7 separate regions of the Homo sapiens genome follow, and regions 2, 3, 4, 5, 6 and 7 are each linked to region 1. Evidence: promoter capture Hi-C in 16 types of primary human blood cells and fetal thymus (Javierre and others, 2016). All regions are on one chromosome and are shown on one strand. Each heading gives the region's core, a stretch centred on a gene start or on the middle of the fragment in contact. The rest is flanking DNA. Distances are from core to core; before and after follow the strand shown.

The links. The method cuts DNA at HindIII sites, captures the fragments that hold promoters and counts their contacts. A CHiCAGO score of 5 or more calls a contact.
Region 2: a contact is called between a fragment that was not itself captured here and the fragment with the promoter of PSMD6-AS1 in region 1, in 1 of 17 cell types (monocytes). The highest score is 5.8, in monocytes.
Region 3: a fragment that was not itself captured here is called in contact with the fragment with the promoter of PSMD6-AS1 in region 1 in 1 of 17 cell types (megakaryocytes); the score reaches 6.5 in megakaryocytes.
Region 4: a fragment that was not itself captured here is called in contact with the fragment with the promoter of PSMD6-AS1 in region 1 in 2 of 17 cell types (total CD4 T cells and total CD8 T cells); the score reaches 5.9 in total CD4 T cells.
Region 5: a contact is called between a fragment that was not itself captured here and the fragment with the promoter of PSMD6-AS1 in region 1, in 1 of 17 cell types (megakaryocytes). The highest score is 5.0, in megakaryocytes.
Region 6: a fragment that was not itself captured here is called in contact with the fragment with the promoter of PSMD6-AS1 in region 1 in 1 of 17 cell types (megakaryocytes); the score reaches 7.5 in megakaryocytes.
Region 7: a contact is called between a fragment that was not itself captured here and the fragment with the promoter of PSMD6-AS1 in region 1, in 1 of 17 cell types (megakaryocytes). The highest score is 5.0, in megakaryocytes.

The regions. Positions count from the first base shown.
Region 1 is chr3:64,010,620-64,013,305 of GRCh38, reverse strand. PSMD6-AS1 (PSMD6 antisense RNA 1) reads right to left here and starts at 1,342. Exons shown (of 2, transcript NR_189168.1): 1 at 1,264-1,342. PSMD6 (proteasome 26S subunit, non-ATPase 6) reads left to right here. Exons shown (of 8, transcript NM_014814.3): 7 at 2,351-2,428; 8 at 2,542-2,686. The coding sequence ends at 2,638. PSMD6-AS2 (PSMD6 antisense RNA 2) reads right to left here. Exons shown (of 3, transcript NR_038286.1): 3 at 1,063-1,509. The HindIII fragment of the contact is 1,623 bases long and covers 616-2,238 here.
Region 2 is chr3:63,784,670-63,787,355 of GRCh38, reverse strand. It overlaps the pseudogene CDHR18P and a transcript of C3orf49 not described here. Among named protein-coding and RNA genes, the nearest start is that of C3orf49, 33 kb to the left of the region's middle. The HindIII fragment of the contact is 3,853 bases long and covers 1-2,686 here.
Region 3 is chr3:64,231,984-64,234,669 of GRCh38, reverse strand. It overlaps a transcript of PRICKLE2 not described here. Among named protein-coding and RNA genes, the nearest start is that of PRICKLE2, 7.9 kb to the right of the region's middle. The HindIII fragment of the contact is 1,947 bases long and covers 378-2,324 here.
Region 4 is chr3:63,809,914-63,812,599 of GRCh38, reverse strand. It overlaps the pseudogene CDHR18P and a transcript of C3orf49 not described here. Among named protein-coding and RNA genes, the nearest start is that of C3orf49, 8.0 kb to the left of the region's middle. The HindIII fragment of the contact is 5,082 bases long and covers 1-2,686 here.
Region 5 is chr3:64,214,872-64,217,557 of GRCh38, reverse strand. The region is part of intron 1 of PRICKLE2 (prickle planar cell polarity protein 2); the gene reads left to right. Among named protein-coding and RNA genes, the nearest start is that of PRICKLE2, 9.3 kb to the left of the region's middle. The HindIII fragment of the contact is 947 bases long and covers 862-1,808 here.
Region 6 is chr3:64,197,574-64,200,259 of GRCh38, reverse strand. It overlaps PRICKLE2 (prickle planar cell polarity protein 2), which reads left to right. Exons shown (of 8, transcript NM_198859.4): 2 at 1,293-1,476. The coding sequence starts at 1,333. PRICKLE2-AS3 (PRICKLE2 antisense RNA 3) reads right to left here. Exons shown (of 4, transcript NR_046702.1): 4 at 1-1,551. Among named protein-coding and RNA genes, the nearest start is that of PRICKLE2-AS3, 11 kb to the right of the region's middle. The HindIII fragment of the contact is 5,343 bases long and covers 1-2,686 here.
Region 7 is chr3:64,171,309-64,173,994 of GRCh38, reverse strand. The region is part of intron 2 of PRICKLE2 (prickle planar cell polarity protein 2); the gene reads left to right. Among named protein-coding and RNA genes, the nearest start is that of PRICKLE2-AS3, 15 kb to the left of the region's middle. The HindIII fragment of the contact is 1,850 bases long and covers 391-2,240 here.

The DNA of each region.
Region 1 (2,686 bases), core at 93-2,592:
TATTATCAAAACATTCGTATCCTGTTGCCTCTGCCTTCCTCATGTCATGTCTGCCCCTTGCATTAACAGATGGGAAGATGAGTTGTAGTGAGGCTAAGTGATTTGTTAAAGGTCATTAGACCAGTTGTTATCAAAAGTTGTCTTCTGTTACTTCTTTGTAGACCACACTGCAGCTACGGTAATGACTCTTAGATCTGATATTTACAGTTGGTCATATTCCCTCTGATAATTCCTTCCAGTTTTTAGGTTGCTGCTGCAATTCTGGTCAGATTGGTTGTTAAATGTGGGACTTTTAGTACTTGCATCAGTGATTAAACAAATAAATACTTAATGAGCCATTCATTACTATATGTTTGGTATTGTTTTACAGCTCCCTTTTCACACTTTCATTGTAGTAGTAGGGAAGAGATGGCAAGGAAGCAAATAAATATAAAACGTAATTTCACATATAGAAATGAACCTATGGAGATGAGAAAATGCTATCCTTACGTACGGCATGCTTAAGGAGGTGAGGTTTGCTCTGAGATTTGAATTGAGAGGAGTCAGCCATATGGAGTCCTTCTGCGTGCAGAAAAGGGAATAGAAAAGGCTAAGGCTTTGAGCCAGGAATAAGCTTGGATGTTGTAGGAACAGAAAATGTCAGGGTGGCTCCAGCATAGTTGGAGTGGTAGGAGATTTTGAGGATAATATATGGAGAGTTAGGTAGGTAATGATTTGTGTAGGGCCTTGTAGGTCATGGGATGGAGCTTGAGTTTTAAGTAAGTTTGATAGGGAGCCATTGGAAGATTTAGAGCCCAAGTTACATGGTCCTATGCAGTGTCTTTATATAAGAAATAGAGTAAGGTGGCAGAGAGGACCAGTTGTGCTGTTTAGTAGCTCTTAGAGGAGATGTTACCGTGGCGTGGACGAGGGTGGTGAGAGTAGAGTTGGGTAGGAGACATACTCAATATGGGATGTCCAGATGGCATCTAGATCAGTGGCTCCCACATGTAGGTGTTTTTAAATGTTGATGATGGTGTTTTCAATGGTCTGCAGTGGAAACTTTAAATGAAGATGCATTTCTTTTAAATAAGACCATTCTCTTTCTAGTATTTTTTAAATTTCGAACATCCATAAAATTGTAAAGAAAGAATTGTACAGTACATTTTAACATATTTGCTTGTTACAATCTATACATTTTATGTTTTTTAACCACTTCAAAGTAAGTTTCAGACACCAACACATTTTTTAAATGATCCCTACCATTTTTTAAATGATCCCTACCAAAATGGAAGGCTGGTATCCCAAGGTTTTGTTCCATTTCTCAATTCTAGTCTGTGAAATTGAAGTCTGATGACCACTCTTAAGAGGGCTGTTCATTAGGGTGCGGGCTGGGCATTATGAGTGTGTTTTTCATGAGTCAGTGGAAGGAGGGGCTTGTTGTGAGCAGTGCATGAGAAAAACGGCTTGGCTTTGCTTCTTTTTCCAGCTCTGTGGCCTTGGTCAGGTTACGTCTCTTCAGTATCGTAACTGTAATGTGGAGATAAAGCCTTCATTAGTTAGGGGCACACACCGCAGTATTCCTTAAGTCATCTTGATGACAAGTGAATGCAAGGCAGCTGGTACCTTTCAGGTAGTAGTTGAATTCAGGTAGTATTTGTTCAGTTTTTTTTTTTTCCCTTCATGTTCTAAGACCAGCTTGAGAGGCAAAGGTTGTACCACTGAGCTCTAGTTGTTGTTACCTAAAAAGGCCTTGTTTTAAATTTCTGTGATACCTAAGAATTTCAAATCTGGGTTGTCATGGATTCTTTATTCTTTTTTTCTCCCTTAAAAAGTTACATTTTAGATGAAATCCCCTTTTTTAAAATGGGCAAAGCAATAATTCTACATCATTTCTCCCCTTCCCTTCCACTTGTTTAGACTAAGATATGTTAGAGAGGGAAAGGGTCGTTGTTTTAGTAAATACTATTGCTGTTGACATGTTAATACTATTGCTGTTGACATGTTTACTGATGGGCTGTGTTCCATAATTTTGTTTTAGGTCTTTTGTTTGAAACAGTTTACTGTTTTTATCAGTTTTGGTCCCTAATTTTTCCTAACCTACAGTTTTTCTCTGAGTACATATGGTTTCATTGTTTGATCTACTTTCTATCTATCTGAATATGAACTTCTAGGATCATGTTTATTCTAGTAGATGATGACTTAAAGCCTGCAGTATAGGAGGGACAACGTCAACTACTGCATGTGCAATAACAAGCTTGAAGGGAAGCTAAATGTTTGTTACAAATTTAAGACAGTATTTTAATGCCGTTTGCATTTTTCTAAGAATTTTCTATAAAGCTAATTCTGTTATTTTTTGTCTCTAAATTAGGGAACTGTCCAGGTTTATTGCTGCCGGGAGACTACACTGCAAAATAGATAAAGTGAATGAAATAGTAGAAACCAACAGGTACTCTCATTTCTCAGAATAAGGGGCATTCCTAAATTTTAAAAGTAGGTCAACTATTGTCATGGAATAATGTGACTGGTAAATAATTCATTTTTTCTTGAATTTATTTATAGACCTGATAGCAAGAACTGGCAGTACCAAGAAACTATCAAGAAAGGAGATCTGCTACTAAACAGAGTTCAAAAACTTTCCAGAGTAATTAATATGTAAAGCCATGTAACTAACAAAGGATTTGCTTTAGAGATAATTATTTGGAAT
Region 2 (2,686 bases), core at 62-2,561, 230 kb after region 1:
TGCTCTCAGGTAATTTAACCACAACTGCCTTTCTTCCTTTCCCCATGAAATAAGCATTATTATTCCCGTGTTTGACGTAAAAGTAAATATGTAATGGATTTGCCTGTGTTCCTGAATGCTAATATTCTACATTGTTCTACAGAAAGAGCAGAAATCAAGTCCATCTCATTTACATATATGGAAATGGATGGTATGAATTAAAACGAATCAGAACATGATGATTCATCAGAAAGTCGATAAATTAAAAGGTCACTCATTTCTCCAAAAGATTTTGAGGTTGCTTTGCAGTTCTTCTGGGCTTAATCTTCTCTATTAAATGATCTCTGTGTCTACACAATTGTTAAGTAAATAGCACTCAGGGTAATGAACTCTTGATATTAATTCTCTTATGGATTTTTGCCCTGGATTTTTCTGGTCATTTGATTCTCACCTAGATGAGAGACCCTGACTTCCACTGCTGTCTTTCTCGAGAAGTTTATCTTAGGGATAAAATGTGGAGAACAGAGAGACATGATGTAAAGTGACTAAACACTCAGCTCTCAAACTGGGGACAAGCCACTTGAAATTTCTAAGCCTGTGTTTCTATCTGTGAGATAGGGATAATATCAGTACCTATGACATAGAGTTATTGTGAGAATTAAAAGACAACGTGTTTGAAGCACTTAACAGAGCAACTGGAAGGCAGTATAAATGAAAATCAAAGACAGGTTAAGAAAACAACTTGATAAAATATTGCCTGTGCCTACACATACAAATTCAGATGAACAGACGTCGGAGTATTTCATATTTTTTTTCCTTCTTTAGCTCCACGACCTCCCTCCACATAAAAGCCCATTCTTTCCATCAACAAGCAAACAAACAAAATTATCCCTGAGTTCTCATTAAACAGTCAGCATGTTTCTCTAAATGTAAACTCCTTTTTATTTAATTTTAGCATTGGGGGAAGTGTTGTGAGAAATGTTCAGATAACATACTGAACATAAGAGAACAGGAAAATTCATTTTTCTATTCTTGAAAAAGAATAGAAATTTTTCAAGAATAGAAACTTGAAAGAATTGAAACTTGAAATTGGTTGAATGGAATATAACTTCATCATCATCATCATCAGTTACGAACATTTACTGAGCGTCTATCATGTATAGGGGAGGGGGGTCAGGGGAGTGGGAATGGGCTCAGAGCACAAAGAGATTTCACGCCTGGTTTTTAGAGATGCGTGGAATCAGGCCAGGGAAGTAGTTGATGTATCTGCAATATTTTGCTTTCTCTTTACTGTCCAATAAACAGTACTTCATTTCCCCGGAGGGCTCTGGCTTTATAATTGACAGCATCGGAACAATTTCCACAGCAGCAGTTTTTGATTTTGAAAGTGAATCTAGAAGGTAAATACTACTACTGGGTTTTCATTTGGAATGCCAGTTCTTTGGTTCGTATTTCCCTTTTCATGAATATTTTCCCTCATCTGGCCTTGATGTGCTCCCCAAATTAAGATGCTTTTGGTGGTTTTCTTTTTTTTAATGAAATCATTACTTAACAGATAGTTGCATGGTGGCTGGTTGATGCTAGACTTGGCTGTTGGGGCTCCTCTCTGCATCATCCTGTTTTCAGAGTGAAGCCACGATTATTTTGGGGGTGGCATTTGCATCCTGCTGTGGAAGTAGGTGAATACTCCTCTCTGGATACCTGTGACACCAAATTCATTCACCGTGTAATACAGTATCTTTAAAAAGTTAATGCACACACATGCCATCTCCTAAGTGGGTAGCCACTGGTTCAAGTTATTATTTTTATTTTTGTAGTGATTTTTATGAACACCCTTTTCAGTCATATGTTCTGCATCAATGTGCTTCATAGGAAAAGGAAATGGACCTTTAAACCTTTCCAATCAAATTGCTCCTGAATCTGATAAGATATTCTTTTCTATTATGAAAGCTGAGGATGGGATATATCCTAAGTGTTAGCATCTTTAGAAGAGAAGTCCAGTGGAGGCCAGGCACGGTGGCTCACGCCTATAATCCCAGCACTTTGAGAGGCCGTGGCAGGTGGATCATGAGGTCGGGAGATCAAGACCATCCTGGCTAACACAGTGAAACCCTGTCTCTACTAAAAATACAAAAAAAATGGCCGGGCATGGTGGCGGGCGCATGTAGTCCCAGCTACTCGGGAGGCTGAGGCAGGAGAATGCGTGAACCCAGGAGGCAGAGCTTGCAGTGAGCCGAGATCACGCCACTGCACTCCAGCCTGGGTGACAGAGCAAGACACTGTCTCAAAAAAAAAAAAAAAAAAAAAAAAAGAAGAAGAAGAGAAGTCCAGTGGAGACTAGGGGCCCACACATCATATGAGATTACCTCTCAGTGAAACAGATTAGGAGTTCAAAACTAGACGAGATCTGCAGCATTAAAGAATTCAAGCTACCTGGGGTCTAGCTGAATGCTGGAGGGTTGATGACAGCAAGGAAGGAAGAAAGCAATTAGCCTTTCTAACACTTTCACTTTTTTTTTGAGATGGAGTCTCACTCTGTCGCCCAGGCTGGAGTGCAGTGGTGCGTATTTGGCTCAATCCAACTTCTACTTCCTGGATTCAAGTGATTCACCTGCCTCAGCCTCCTGAGTAGCTGGGAGATTACAGGTATGTGTCACACGCCCGGTTAATTTTTGTATTTTTAGTAGAGATGGGGTTTCACCATGTT
Region 3 (2,686 bases), core at 102-2,601, 220 kb before region 1:
CGAACTTTATCAAAATTAGAAATCTTTATGCTTCAAAGACACTATCAAGAAAAAGGATATACCCCACATGATGGGAGAAAACATTTATAAATCATATATCTAATAAGGGACATGTTCCCAGAATATACAAGGAACTTTTATAACTTACTAATTTTAACACGTGTGCCCAATTTTAAAATGAGCAAAAAATTTGAATATACGTTTCTCCAAAGAAGGTATGCAAATAGCCAACACACATATGAAAAGATGTTTAACATTATTAGCCATTAAGCAAGTGCAAATAAAAACCACTATGAGGTATTACTTCATACCCACTAGGATGACTATAATAAAAAAGACAGTAACAAGTTTTGGCAAAGATGAAGAAATGGGAAGCTTCAGATATCACTTGTGAGAATGTGAAACTGGAGGAGCACTTTGAAAAACTGCTTGATGGTTCTATGAAATGTTAAACCTAGAGTTATACGACCCAGCAATCCCACTACTAGATATGTATCCAAGGAAAATAAAAAGCATGCATCCCCACAAAAACTTATACGTGAATGTTCATAGTAGCATTATTTATAATCATAAAGACTGGAAACAACCCAAATATCCATCAATTGATGAATAGATGAATATGATGTATATTAGTACAATGGAATATTACTCTGTCATAAAAAGAATGAAATTCTGATATAAGCTACAGGATGAACCAAAAATACACTAGGTGAAGAGCCAGGCACAAAGGGCCACATATTATATGTTTTCACTAATATAAAATGTCAAGAATAGGCAACTCTATAGAGACAGAAAGTAGATTAGTGTTTGCCTAGGCCTGGAGCAGTGGGACAAGTGGGGAGTGACTACTGCTTACTAGAGGGTTTCTTTTTGGATTGAAGAAAGTTTTAAAGTTAGATTGTGGTGATGGTTGTACAACCCTATGAATATACTTAAATGGGTGAGCTGTATAGTATATTAATTATATTTCAATATAACTCTTCTTAAAAGGATCTAAGGAGAAAAATAAAGTAGGGAATTGTTTGGCCATGTTAGTAAGATGCGGGAAGGATGACAATCTCAGATAGGATGGTAAGACTTAGCCCTCACCAAGGTGACATTAGACTTGAAATAGTGACAGAGCAAGCCACATGACTTTCTGCAGGAGGAATATTTCAGACAAGTGCAAAGACCAGGAGGCACACATGTGCCTGGCATGTTTGAGGGCCAGTGTTCATGTGACAGGAAGGGAGACAGTAGCAGGAGATAGTGTCGGAGAAGCAATAGGACCTAGATCTCCAGGGACTTATTCTGAGATGAGCAGCATCACCAGTGTAGTCTTGAGCAGAAGCATGGCATGCTGCAATGTTTGTTTTCAGAGAATCAAGATGACTGCAGTTTTGTGAATAGACTGAAGGGGAGCAATAATAGACCAGGTAGGAGGCAAGAGTTGATGGTGACTTGGAACTTCATCCAGGAGAGAAATGGCAGTGGCATGGACCAGTGTGATGATGGTGGAGGAAAGATATTAGATCCTGTGTATATTTTGACAGTAGAGCTAACGGGATTTGCCAAGGGCTGGAAAATGTTCAGTGTCAAGGACCAGAGTGTAAATGTATTAGGCTTTGCAGGCTGTACGTTCTCTGTTACAATGACTCAACCCTGCCATTGTATCATGAATGCAGCCATAGATAGCACATAATGAATGGTCATGATTGTGTTCCAATAAAAGTATTTGCAAAAACGTGAAGCAAACCAGATTTGGCCTGTGGGATATAGTTTGTCAACCTCCTCTGGATTAGATGTCAGGGGTGAAGGATGGCTCAAAGGTATTTGTTCTCATCCGTTGGGAGTGTGGAGTTGCCATTAACTGAGATAGCAAAGACTACAGATGGAGCAGATTGTGGGGGATATGGTGTGGACTCAACTGGGAATTAAGAGATGGAGATGTGACATAGGCAGTTGGTCTTGAGATCATGGAAAAGGTCTCGCCTTGAGTCATCAGCCTAAAGGTGTGTTTAAGACCCTACCCTAGACCAGAGAAGCAAATGTAGATATACAGGAGTCCCAGGACTTAGCCGCAGGTTCTCCAGCATTAAGCTCTGAAGGAGATGAGCATGAGCCAGCAAAAGAGCCTGAGAAGGAGCAGCCAGAGGGTAGGAGGGAAAGCAGGAGAATGTGGCATCCTGGAAGCAAAGCTAAGAAGTGTTTCAGTGAGCTGAACTCCATCCTTTCCTTTCCCACTCACAAGAGTATGTTGGAATGCAAATGAACAGAGAGGTATTCTTACAGGAATAATCCTGAAATTCCTCTAATTTCTAGATTAGAAGAAGCATTGTCAAGCTTTTTATTAATTCCAAAAATGTTCATTAGCTGTCAGGCCACAAAGCAGTAGATCCTTTGAATAGAATGGTGAGCCACAAAAGGCATGGTCTCTGCTCTTAGGCCACATAGAGTCTGGTTAGTAAGAGAGAGAGGTTAATCACATAATCGTTAACATTGACCAAGGATGGATCATCATAACTAACCAAGGATGTAGAACTGTGAACCAGAATGAGAGTCCTAAGGGAAAGGACACACATCTAAGAGTGCAACACTCTATGTACTCTTCCCTTGTACAAAGGAATTGATCTAATCTGATGGCACAGGGAACCTTCTGTGTTTTTCTGTTTTTAATAACACATTATTTCCCACACTTCACACCCTA
Region 4 (2,686 bases), core at 120-2,619, 200 kb after region 1:
ACAAAAAAAATCAAGTAAAATAAGGATAAATGATAGGTATCTTAAGGACTGAAAGATCTAATGAAATGTAAGAAATATTTTATTTCAACTTAGTTTGTTATATTTTGACTTTTTTATGTGTTTGGGTAAAGATTTTTATCTTGAATCTGGAGACACACAGTGGAGATGCTCAGACATGTTTGGCCTATAGCAAGTTTGTCCAACGTGTGGCCCGTGGACCACAGGTGACCCAGGATGGCTTTGGATGTGGTCCAACACAAATTCATAAACTTTCTTAAAACATTATGAGATTTTTTTGTGATTAAAAAAATGTTTTTAGCTCATCAGCCATCATTTTTGTTAGTGCATTTTATGTGTGGTCCAAGACAATTTTTCTTCTTCCATTGTGGCTCAGGGAAGCCAAAAGATTGGACAACCCTGGCCTACAGGATATTTTGAATATCAGAAGATTTCACATAAAAATTTCCATTTCAGGATCCTCATAAAAAAATAAGAGTCCCTGGCAACTCAGCCCACATTCCCAGATAGGCAGAGGAGTGGCACCCCAGTTGGGTGGGAACAAGTTCTCAGTTTACCGCAGTCGCTACCACTCCCAGTGCTCTACACCAGCTGTCAGGCATTATTTTACAATCTCCATGAACAGAGTTCAACTAGTTTTTTTTTTTAATTTTAAATTAATTTTATTTTTAATATATTTTTTCTATTGGTTCTGTCTTTCTGGAGATCAATTTTTTTTTTAATCTCCTCTTGTCCTTGAGTATGAAGAGGCAGCATCTCAGTTTCCATCATTCTATGCCAGCATTTTCACATAGCATTCTCTATTTTTTCACAATTTGTCTTTGTAATACAGCTATGAGCCTATGATTATTTTTATTCTTTTTATTTTATTCTAGAGAAGGGGTCTTGCTATACCTCCCAAGTTGAACTGAGGCGCAGGTGATCTTCCCACCCCAGCCTCCCAAGTAGTCGGGACTATAGGTGTGAGCCAGTGTGCCTGGCTCTATTTTTTTTTGTTTTTTTTTTTGTTTTGTTTTTGTTTTTTGACACAGAGCCTTGCTCTGTCACCCAGGCTGGAGTGCAGTGATATGATCTCGGCTCACTGCAAGCTCCGCCTCCCGAGTTCACACCATTCTCCTTCCTCAGCCTCCGGAGTAGCTGGGATTACAGGCCTCCGCCCCCATGCTCGGCTAGTTTTTTGTATTTTTAATATAGATGGGGTTTCACTGTGTTAGCCAGGATGGTCTTGATCTCCTGACCTCGTGATCCGCTCGCCTCGGCCTCCCAAAGTGCTGGGATTACAGGTGCGAGGCACCTCGCCTGGCCGTGCCTGGCTCTATTTTTATTATTTTTAGTTATTGACTTAATTTCAGAAAGTGAAGAGTTTTTTATTTAACTATTTTAACAGGAAATGCATAATAAAATGCCAGCCCTGCTTACTTAAATAACAGTTTGGACCGAATATGGTGTCTCACACCTGCAATCTCAGCACTTTGGGAGGCTAAGGCAGGCGGATCACTTGAGGTCAGAAGTTTGAGACCAGCCTGGGCAACATGGCAAAATCTCATCTCTACTGAAAATACAAAATTACTCAGGTGTGGTGGTGTGCACATTTGTAATTCCAGCTACTCGGAAGGCTGAGGCACAAGAATTTCTTGAACCCTGTAGGTGGAGGTTGCAGTGAGCTGAGATCGCACCACTGCACTCCAGCCTGGGTGAGAGAGTGAGACTCTGTCTCAAACAAAACAAAACCAGTTTGGTGGATGGGTTGATATTCTCGGAAAATTATGATCCCCTTTTCTAGAGATTATCGTATGTTAAGGGATTGAGATTGTTTTTCAGAATATACCTTTAGTGGAAAACCAAATTATTCCCAAGTTTCTCAGCTCATGCAAATATATTGAAGAAAAACCTAAAATCAATTCACTCTTTAATGCAATGGCAACAAGACACCATCGAATACAGATATAAGCCGTCATTGACATGGCCCAACCTGTGGAATTGAATAGAGAATCCGAACCAACAAAATGACATGTAGTAGCAAGTTTTCAAGTGCATTCCGTGTCACGAAATAATAAGGTCTTGACCCATAGGTCAATAGGCTTGATATACTTCAGTTAGCAAAAAAGGATCATTTTATGTATTCATTTATTCACCTGATCATTCCACAAATCTCTATTAAGTGCCTACTATGGACAGACACTGTTCTTAGTACTGAGCATACAGCGAGGAACAGATGAAAGTTCCCAATTTCATGACACTTGTATTTTAAGTGGGAGGGGGATAGGGAGGAGGCAAAAAAATGAACAAATAATATGTGAAATTTTAAGAGATAGGAAGTGTCTGCAGGGGTGGGAAATTTTTTTATTTGGCCTGAGAAGACCTCTCTGCTATAGTGACATTATATTAGGTTGGCACAAACGTAATTGCGGTTTTTGCCATGACTTTTTTTTTTTTGAGATGGTGTCTTGCTCTGTCGCCCAGGTTGGATTGCAGTGGTGTGATCTCGGCTCACTGCAACCTCCATATCCTGGGTTCAAATGATTCTCCTGCCTCAGCCTTCCCAGTAACTGGGATTACAGGCACCACCATGCCCCGGCTAATTTTTTGTATTTTTAGTAGAGATGAGATTTCACTATGTTAGCCAGGCTCGTCTTGAACTACTGACCTCAAGTGATCCACCTGACTC
Region 5 (2,686 bases), core at 86-2,585, 200 kb before region 1:
AAGTGTGCTGGAATGAAACCCTATTTTCCATTTACTCTGTATTTTATTCGTTCTTACGAATGTGAATGTTCTGCAGGCTTACTGAAAGTTTTAGTTAATTACTTAATGGGTACAATGTACACTATTTACGTGATGGATATACTAAAAGCCCAGACTTCATCACTATGCAGTATATCCATGTATCAAAACTGCACTTGTACCCCCTAAATTTATACAAATTAAAAAGAAAGTTTAATTTTTGGTAAATTAAAGTTTTAATAGTCTTTTTTTCTTTCTTTCTCTGTAATATACATCCTTTTATTCTGATTAATACCTTAGGGCTCCTGTCCCTTTTCAGTACCAGTGATGTAGGGTCTTTCTCCAGGTCTCCTGCTGTGATGCTGTCAGAGGAATACCTCCTTTACAAGGGGCTGTTTTCTGTAGGCATCCTCCTGGCAGTCCAGCCATTGGTTAGGTAGTCAGGGGATATGAAGTGCGTGCTCCTGGCACAGCAACTGCATAGCCCTCAGCTACAGCTCTCCCCTTCCCCTGACAGCTTATCCAGCAAGAGTCAGAACTTCATTTAAATCGCTGCCTGAGTCTATTACTTGCTTTTGAGTTCATCATCTCAGAAGTTGCCAGGAAAGCCTGTCAAGACTAGAAGCTTGCCACGGACTGGAAAGATGACACCCCCACCCTTGCATCCTGTGGAGGTTGGGCCACTCCGAAGTGCCTGCCTCATTAGGAAGGAGGGTGAAAATGCACAGCAAAGAATTCACGTGCTCCTCTCTCAACAGGAGCTTCGATTCTTGCTAGACTGGCTTCTGAAAGGGGAATAAGTAGAAAGCAGCATAATCACAGGGCCTGACTGATCAGAAAGCTTGAACCTGCCTTCTTTTCACTGTGTCAGTTTGGCTGCCTAACCAGCTGCCTAAACACTCACGTTGTTTGCCCTTGTAATGCTTAAAAATGGTTTTAAATCCTGCACCACTGAATTGCTAAGATGCAGCATCCTAAATGGTAACTATGATATCATGTGCTATTTTGAATTTTTAAAAGAATGTTACAGAGAGTGAGAAATAGCAATTGAGCATCTGCGAGATGTAAGGCGCTGACTTTGGCCCTGTGGGTAGTTTAAAATATCACAGCCGGTCTTTTGCACTTAACCAGTTTTCCAAACCAGATGTTTTTAGCTTAGGATCCCTGGACAGCAAAGGACTGGACAGAATTGATGAACTTTCTGAAATTTAATGCAAAATTTTCTGTGAATGTGCATATGTCCATTTTTTAAGGGAGAGGATCCCAGCTTTCATCAGATTTTAAGGGCATCAAGTCACCCGAAAGGTTTAAAACTGCTAAGTTGGCTGGTAGGTTGTTGTAAACTCATCCAGAGAAATCTCTACAGGTTAATGTGAGACTGGAAAAAATAATGTTTTTCTGCCCCAGAGCAGATAGCCCAGAGAAATGCAGCATTTTTCTACATGATTACCCAGGAGCTAATGTTAAACCCTGCGGAGCTAGAAGGAGAGAGTTACCTGATTTTCTTCCATTCTGTAGATGAGTAAATTGACGGTCGTGGTCTCAGATGCCAAGGCCATAGGAGTTCTTGTTCCTTCTATCTCTCAGATAGTTTTTATTGTTCACTCAACAGTTTAACAACCTTTTGAACATTTGCTGTGTGCTAGGCCAGAGTTTTTCAGTATTTCTGTACTTGAGGCGTTCTTTCAAATACTTGACATTTTGCAGTACAGTAACAGAATTAAATTACTACACTATAGTTATGGTACATTGTCAGCTGTAATATATTTTTCTCTACCTCATCTTAAGCTTTTGCATACTTTCATTTAATTGAGGACAAAGGCAGTCTTTCTTTAATGTGATCTTGGCCAAACACTACTCGTCATGTAGTTGAATCACATTCTACATTTTTGACATCATTGTAGCAATATACATTTTCAGTTATTGTAAAAAAATAAATATGAAAAATAAAATTTACGCTTTGGTCATATCTTGTTAGTAGCTCACTGGTTGCAGTTAGATTTCAGACTAAGTATTAGTCAAAATTTCAAAGAGCTACTTATTGAATGCTTATTATTCTAGATAAAGGATTTTAAAATTTACATTACAATGGGAAAAGGTATTTTAGACACACCAACAAATAAAATGGCGTCTGATGTTAAGGAAAAGATGTCTTTGGTTGATGATGGGAATAGTGAAAAGCAGACCAGCTCCTGAAGTACTGAGGGAAGGGTGTTTTGGGCCGAGGAGCAGCTGCTGCAAAGATCCTAAGAGAGGGAAAGCCTTGGCAAATTCAAAGGACAAATAAAGACTGCTGAGGCTGGAACAAGATGGGGAATAGAGTAGAACAAAATAAATTTGGGGAGAGAGGAACAGACCAGGTTATATAGGGTCTTGTAGGCTATGGTTAAGGAGTTTGTGCTTCATTCTCACTGTTGTCAGAAGTTAATGGCACATTTTAAGCAGGAGAGCTGAGTGTTATCATCATTGTTTAAAAAACAAACGGTGGTGGAAATTAGATTCTAGAAGGGCAGGCATGGAGGCAGGAAATTAAGAAGTAGGCTATTGTAGTAGCTCAAGCAGGAGGTAATGGTGAGTTGGAGTAGGATAGTAAAGATAGAGGTGGTAAAAAGAGATAATGAATAAATGACTAAGACTCATCCCGTGCACCAAGGAAGTCCACGGTCCC
Region 6 (2,686 bases), core at 71-2,570, 190 kb before region 1:
TTCTGTGTGAAAGAAGCCAACTTCAAAAGAACCACATATTATATGATTGCATTTATATGAAATGTCCAAAATAGGCAAAACCATAGAGACAGAAAATAGATTAGTGGTTGTTAGAGCCTGGGGGCAGAGGGATATGGGAAATAACTGCCAATGCTCCTGGGGTTTCTTTTGGGGAGGGGATGAAAATTAGATAGTGATGATTCACAATTCCGAATGTATTAAGAGTCCATGAATTGTACACTTTGAAATGGTGAGTTTTATGGTTTGTACATTGTATCTTCACAAAGCTGTTATCAGAACGTTCAGGCACATCTGGGGATTAAAATTCTGGGCTCTTTTATCACCTTTATAAGGTGCTACGGAAACTAATAATTTTAAAAAGAGTGAACATGGAATAACTTATTTCCTTAAAATTTTCCTCCTCTATTCTTTTTTTCTCTCTTTTTATTTTATTGGTGGAAGCTAGAAATGCTTTTGTGTTGCTGACATCAACATATTTATTGCTTCATCATTTCTGTAGCTATGGATAAGAGAACAGATGGTAACCTTAAAAGAGAAATGTTCAGTTTGGGAGATTTTTATCTTTGGCTGCTACCTTTTGAAATAATTCACATGCATGATCTTCTTGTATATAAAAAACCCCACCAACATAGGGAAAATTTGGGTTTCTAATTAGAATTCCAAACCTACAGGGATCTTTAATGGAGGTGAAATTGTCTTTCCTATGAGATCTTAGGGCCAGATACGTTTCATGAGAAAAAATATGTATGTTTGCTCTTCTTCTTAAAGAACATTTTACCTGCATTTTTAAAACCATTTTCTCCATTTTCCAGGGCTTAGGAACCTTTTATAAAAGCAGTATGTTGTCAGTATTTGTTAAATCTACAAGTAACACTTCAGGTCAACATATGTATTATGTATATTTAATTGCTATTGCAGTCAAGGAAATTGTGGTCATGGGCCATATCCAGTGGTCTACCTAGTAAAATAAAAACTATATTACCATTCCTCTTGGGGTATTGATTTAGAAGAGAAGGCTGGGGTCCACATGTAAACACCCTTAGCATGCTTACCTGGTGGCCTCTGACCTTTCATGCTGTTTTCACATGCGTGTACCACGCCCTCTGCAAAGACAGTCATGTTCTGGAACACTGCTCGCGATGCCTTTGCCCGATGCCCATTGCCAAGGAATGTGTTTATGGTTTGGGATCCAGGGGCTAGTGACTGGCAGGCTCTTGGAAAAAAAAAAAGGTTTTTTCCTCTTTCTCACCTTCTACCTTTACTGCCTGCAGGAAGATCTGCCTGCACTGCAAGTGTCCCCAGGAGGAGCACATGGTGACAGTGATGCCGCTGGAGATGGAGAAGACCATCAGCAAACTCATGTTTGACTTTCAGAGGAACTCGACCTCAGATGATGACTCAGGCTGTGCTTTGGAAGAGTATGCCTGGGTCCCGCCGGGTCTGAAGCCTGAACAGGTACCATTCTGGATGGGAGCATGCTGGTGGTTTGGGTGTTTCACTTTGCCTTACTGGTCCTTCCTCATTCCAGTTCTGTAGGAAGAGTAGACTTTGCTGATTCAGAGAAGTGGTAGGGCTAAATATGTTGAAGATGCCAGGGGCCCCAGTGGAAAATGAGGAAGGGAAATGAAATTGAGCCAGGAGTGATCCATTGCTAATTCATTCTGTATTGTCATTATTAACTGTTACCAGGATTGTCTAGAAACATCTCAGAGGTGTACCACATTTTTCTCAGTGAAATACAGCCTCTTGTATTTCTTGGTACTTCAAATTTTCTCCTCTACCAGCCCCATGTTGTTTAAGAAGCTCTTTTATAAGCTGGGTATTTTCATGATGTTTCCTGTGAGAATCTGAAGTGCCAGAATCTGAAGTGTTTGACCACTGTTGACTTCCTCTGACACATAAAATTTCTTTCTCAGGACATCTTCTCTATGTCCAACAAAAACGTTTTAAAGTTTAAACAGCCCTTGAAATTTTTTTTGTTTTATTTATTTATTTATTTATTTATTTATTTATTTATTTATTTATTTTAGATAGAGTCTCGCTCTGTCGCCCAGGCTGGAGTGCAGTGGCGCGATCTTGGCTCACTGCAAGCTCTGCCTCCCGGGTTCACGCCATTCTCCTGCCTTAGCCTCCCGAGTAGCTGGGACTACAGGCACCCGCCACCACCCCTGGCTAATTTTCTTGTATTTTTAGTAGAGATGGGGTTTCACCATGATAGCCAGGATGGTCTCGATCTCCTGACCTCGTGATCCGTCCGTGTTGGCCTCCCAAAGTGCTGGGATTACAGGCGTGAGCCACCACACCCGGCCATCAGCCCTTGAAATTTTAACTTGGAAACTTTAGGTGTGATAATGCTTTTAGGGAAAATTCTTTTTTTTTTTAACTTTATTTTCAGTTCATGGGTACATGTGCAAGTTTGTCACACAGGTAGACTGGTGTCATGGGAGTTTGTTGTACAGATTATTTCATCACCCAGATATTAAGCCTAGTACCCATTAGTTATTTTTCCTGACCCTCTCCCTCCTCCCAGCCTTCACTCTGTGGTAGGGCCCAGTGTGTGTTGTTCCCCACTATGTGTCCATGTGTTCTCATCATTTAGCTCCCACTGCATGAGAACATGCAGTATTTGGTTTTGTTTCTCCATTAGTTTGCTAAGGGTAATGGC
Region 7 (2,686 bases), core at 66-2,565, 160 kb before region 1:
CACATCCTCTTTACTTTGAGAAAACAAAACACCTGCCAATACATAAATAATTGTGAGTGTTCATCAGTTCTTATTATTCCTGGGAGTTTAGAAAGGAGACAGGAGGGAGAAAAGAAAAGCGTGGTTTAGAGAAAGGGCAAAATTCTGGAGATTCGGAAAAGGCTGGGAGACAGAAGAGCTGTGACTATTCTGAAGTATGTGTCAGCTGAGATAGACAACTTGGCTTAATGTGTGATTTGCTGGGACCGTTGAAGACAGAGTTGGGCAACAGATCAGTTGTCATCGTACTCTTCAAAGTGCTCTTTAGCTGTTTAATCTCATTTACAGCTCTTCTACTGCTCTTTTTACTTTTTAAAAGAGAATTTGCCAAGGATACTGGCCATTTAAGCTTCTGACAGAATGCTAGAGCCGGCCTCATACTGCCTTGCAAGAGCCAATTGGTCAGTTTTCAGGAATTTTGTAAATCCATTGTTAAATACAGCCATTATGAAAATTTAATTATATAAACTTATAATTAAATAAATTATATTTTTTAAAGATGATAAATACTTGAAATTCATCACTTCCTATTTAATTTATCCTATTCCACTGTTATCTATGTTCTTGAGACTGTTTTGCCTATTATATCTGTATAGTGGGAGTACTGTGTGATGGTATGCTATGTATAGCTCTTCCCAGTTCCACATCCGATGACATCACATTGGTAGCTTGAATGTGGGATTCATAGTGGGATCACATACCCTATGGAAATTGGCAAATGCTACAAATCAGTACCTAACTTATTTTTTATTGAATCTTTGTAGTGTTTTTGTCTACCTATTATGGCTTTTGCATTATTTTAACTTTGTATTGTAGTCATTTGTCTACTTGTCTTATACCCTCTGCCAAATATAACCTCTTTCCACCTAGGGGTGGTTTCCCATTCATGTGTGTGTTCTTTCCCCACAAGCACTCAACAGTTCCTTACACTTGCGTATCACAGATAACAGAATAGCACAGACTGGGTGGCTTAAACAACAGAAATTTATTTTCTCACAGTTCTGGAGTCCAAAAGCTCAAGATCAAGATGTCAGCAGGGTTGATTTCTGGTGAGGCTTTTCTTCCTGGCTTGCAGATGGCCTTTTCTCTGTGCATGCTCCTGGTTATCTCTTCCTCTTCTTACAAGGACACCAGTCTTATTGAATAGGGCCCCAGCCTTATGACCTCATTTAATCTTAATTACCTCCTTAAAGGCCCTATCTATAAATATAGTCACACATAGGGGTTAGGGATTTGATATGTGAATCACAGGGGGTACACAATTCTGTTTATAACATAGACATTTATGAATTATGCATTAGACTGCTTCAAAGCCAAGAAATATAGAGCCTTCAGCCTGTGCCTCTCTCTTTGTTAGTTACACGATATCATTTGAGCCTCTTATTAATGCTTCAAGGTAGATATTATTGTCCCCAATTTACAGATGGAGATATTAACTTTCTACAAGAGATCAAATAACTTGCCCAACTACATGCAGATGGTAAGTGTTACATCCATTATTGGAACCCAAACAATCTGACTGCAGAGTCCAAACAAGTTACCCCTATAAGAAACTGCCATCCTTCTTTTTTCATACTTATGTATGTGTGTATTTTATCTAAAGGCAGTATTGAAACTGTTGTCAAATGAAGTTAGCAACTGTTGGGGAATTTTTAATAGGGCATATACGCAAATGCGTAGACAATCTGCAAAGGGTGTTTTGATAAAATTGGGATGAGGGAGTCTATTTAAGTGTAGCTTAAGTAGAAAATGTTCAAACCCCAAGTTCTTCCATTTCTGCAACCTTTTCTTTAACACAAGATAAAATAAATGTCAGATAATGCTCCAAACTAAATGGAATGTATTTTCTAACAAAACATTGAAGTTTAATATTCTAAATAAAATAATAAACAGGGTTGGAAAGAGTGGTCATGTGAGAACTAACAGGCATAGGAGCAAAGCAACTCATGTGATTCTGAATTATGGTACCGGCTTAGGGCATAACATAATTATTTTCCTTAGTTTGTTCAAACGAAGTTAACTCAACTTGAAAGAAATTCTCTGGCTTCAAATACAAATGGGTGTCGCTTTTGTCACTTCCTCTGAAATAAACAGTATATTGACAGTTATTCCATGCATCCTTTACTTAGCATCTCCACCCACCCCACAGCACTAATCTTTGGTGAAAAAAGCAAATGCTTTGATGGAATGAAAGAGAAGCTTAATGAGTTTTACTCTGTTTCCTCTTGAAATCTCGCTTGTTTATTCTCTTGCTGTATGTGTCTGTCTAGATCCTCTAATAACCCAGACAGCTAGAAAGGTAAGATTTGAATACAGCATGCATCCATTCAACAAACACTTATTGAGTATCTTGTACATGCCAGACCCTCTTCTGGGGGTATACAGCAAACACAGTCCTAAGTACTCACATTCTAGAGGGAAGAGAAAGTCAACAAACAAATAGATCATTTGTCAACAACTGATAAGTTCTTTGACAAAAAGCAGATGAAGAGTTTATCAGTTTCAGCACTGTTGGCATTTTGATGGGGATCTTTTGCTGTTGGGGCTGACCCATGTATTGTAGGAAGTTTGGCAGCGTCCCTGGCCTCTACCCACTATATGTGCCAAAGCAGCTCCCTCCCCAAGTTGCAATAACAAAAAATGTTTG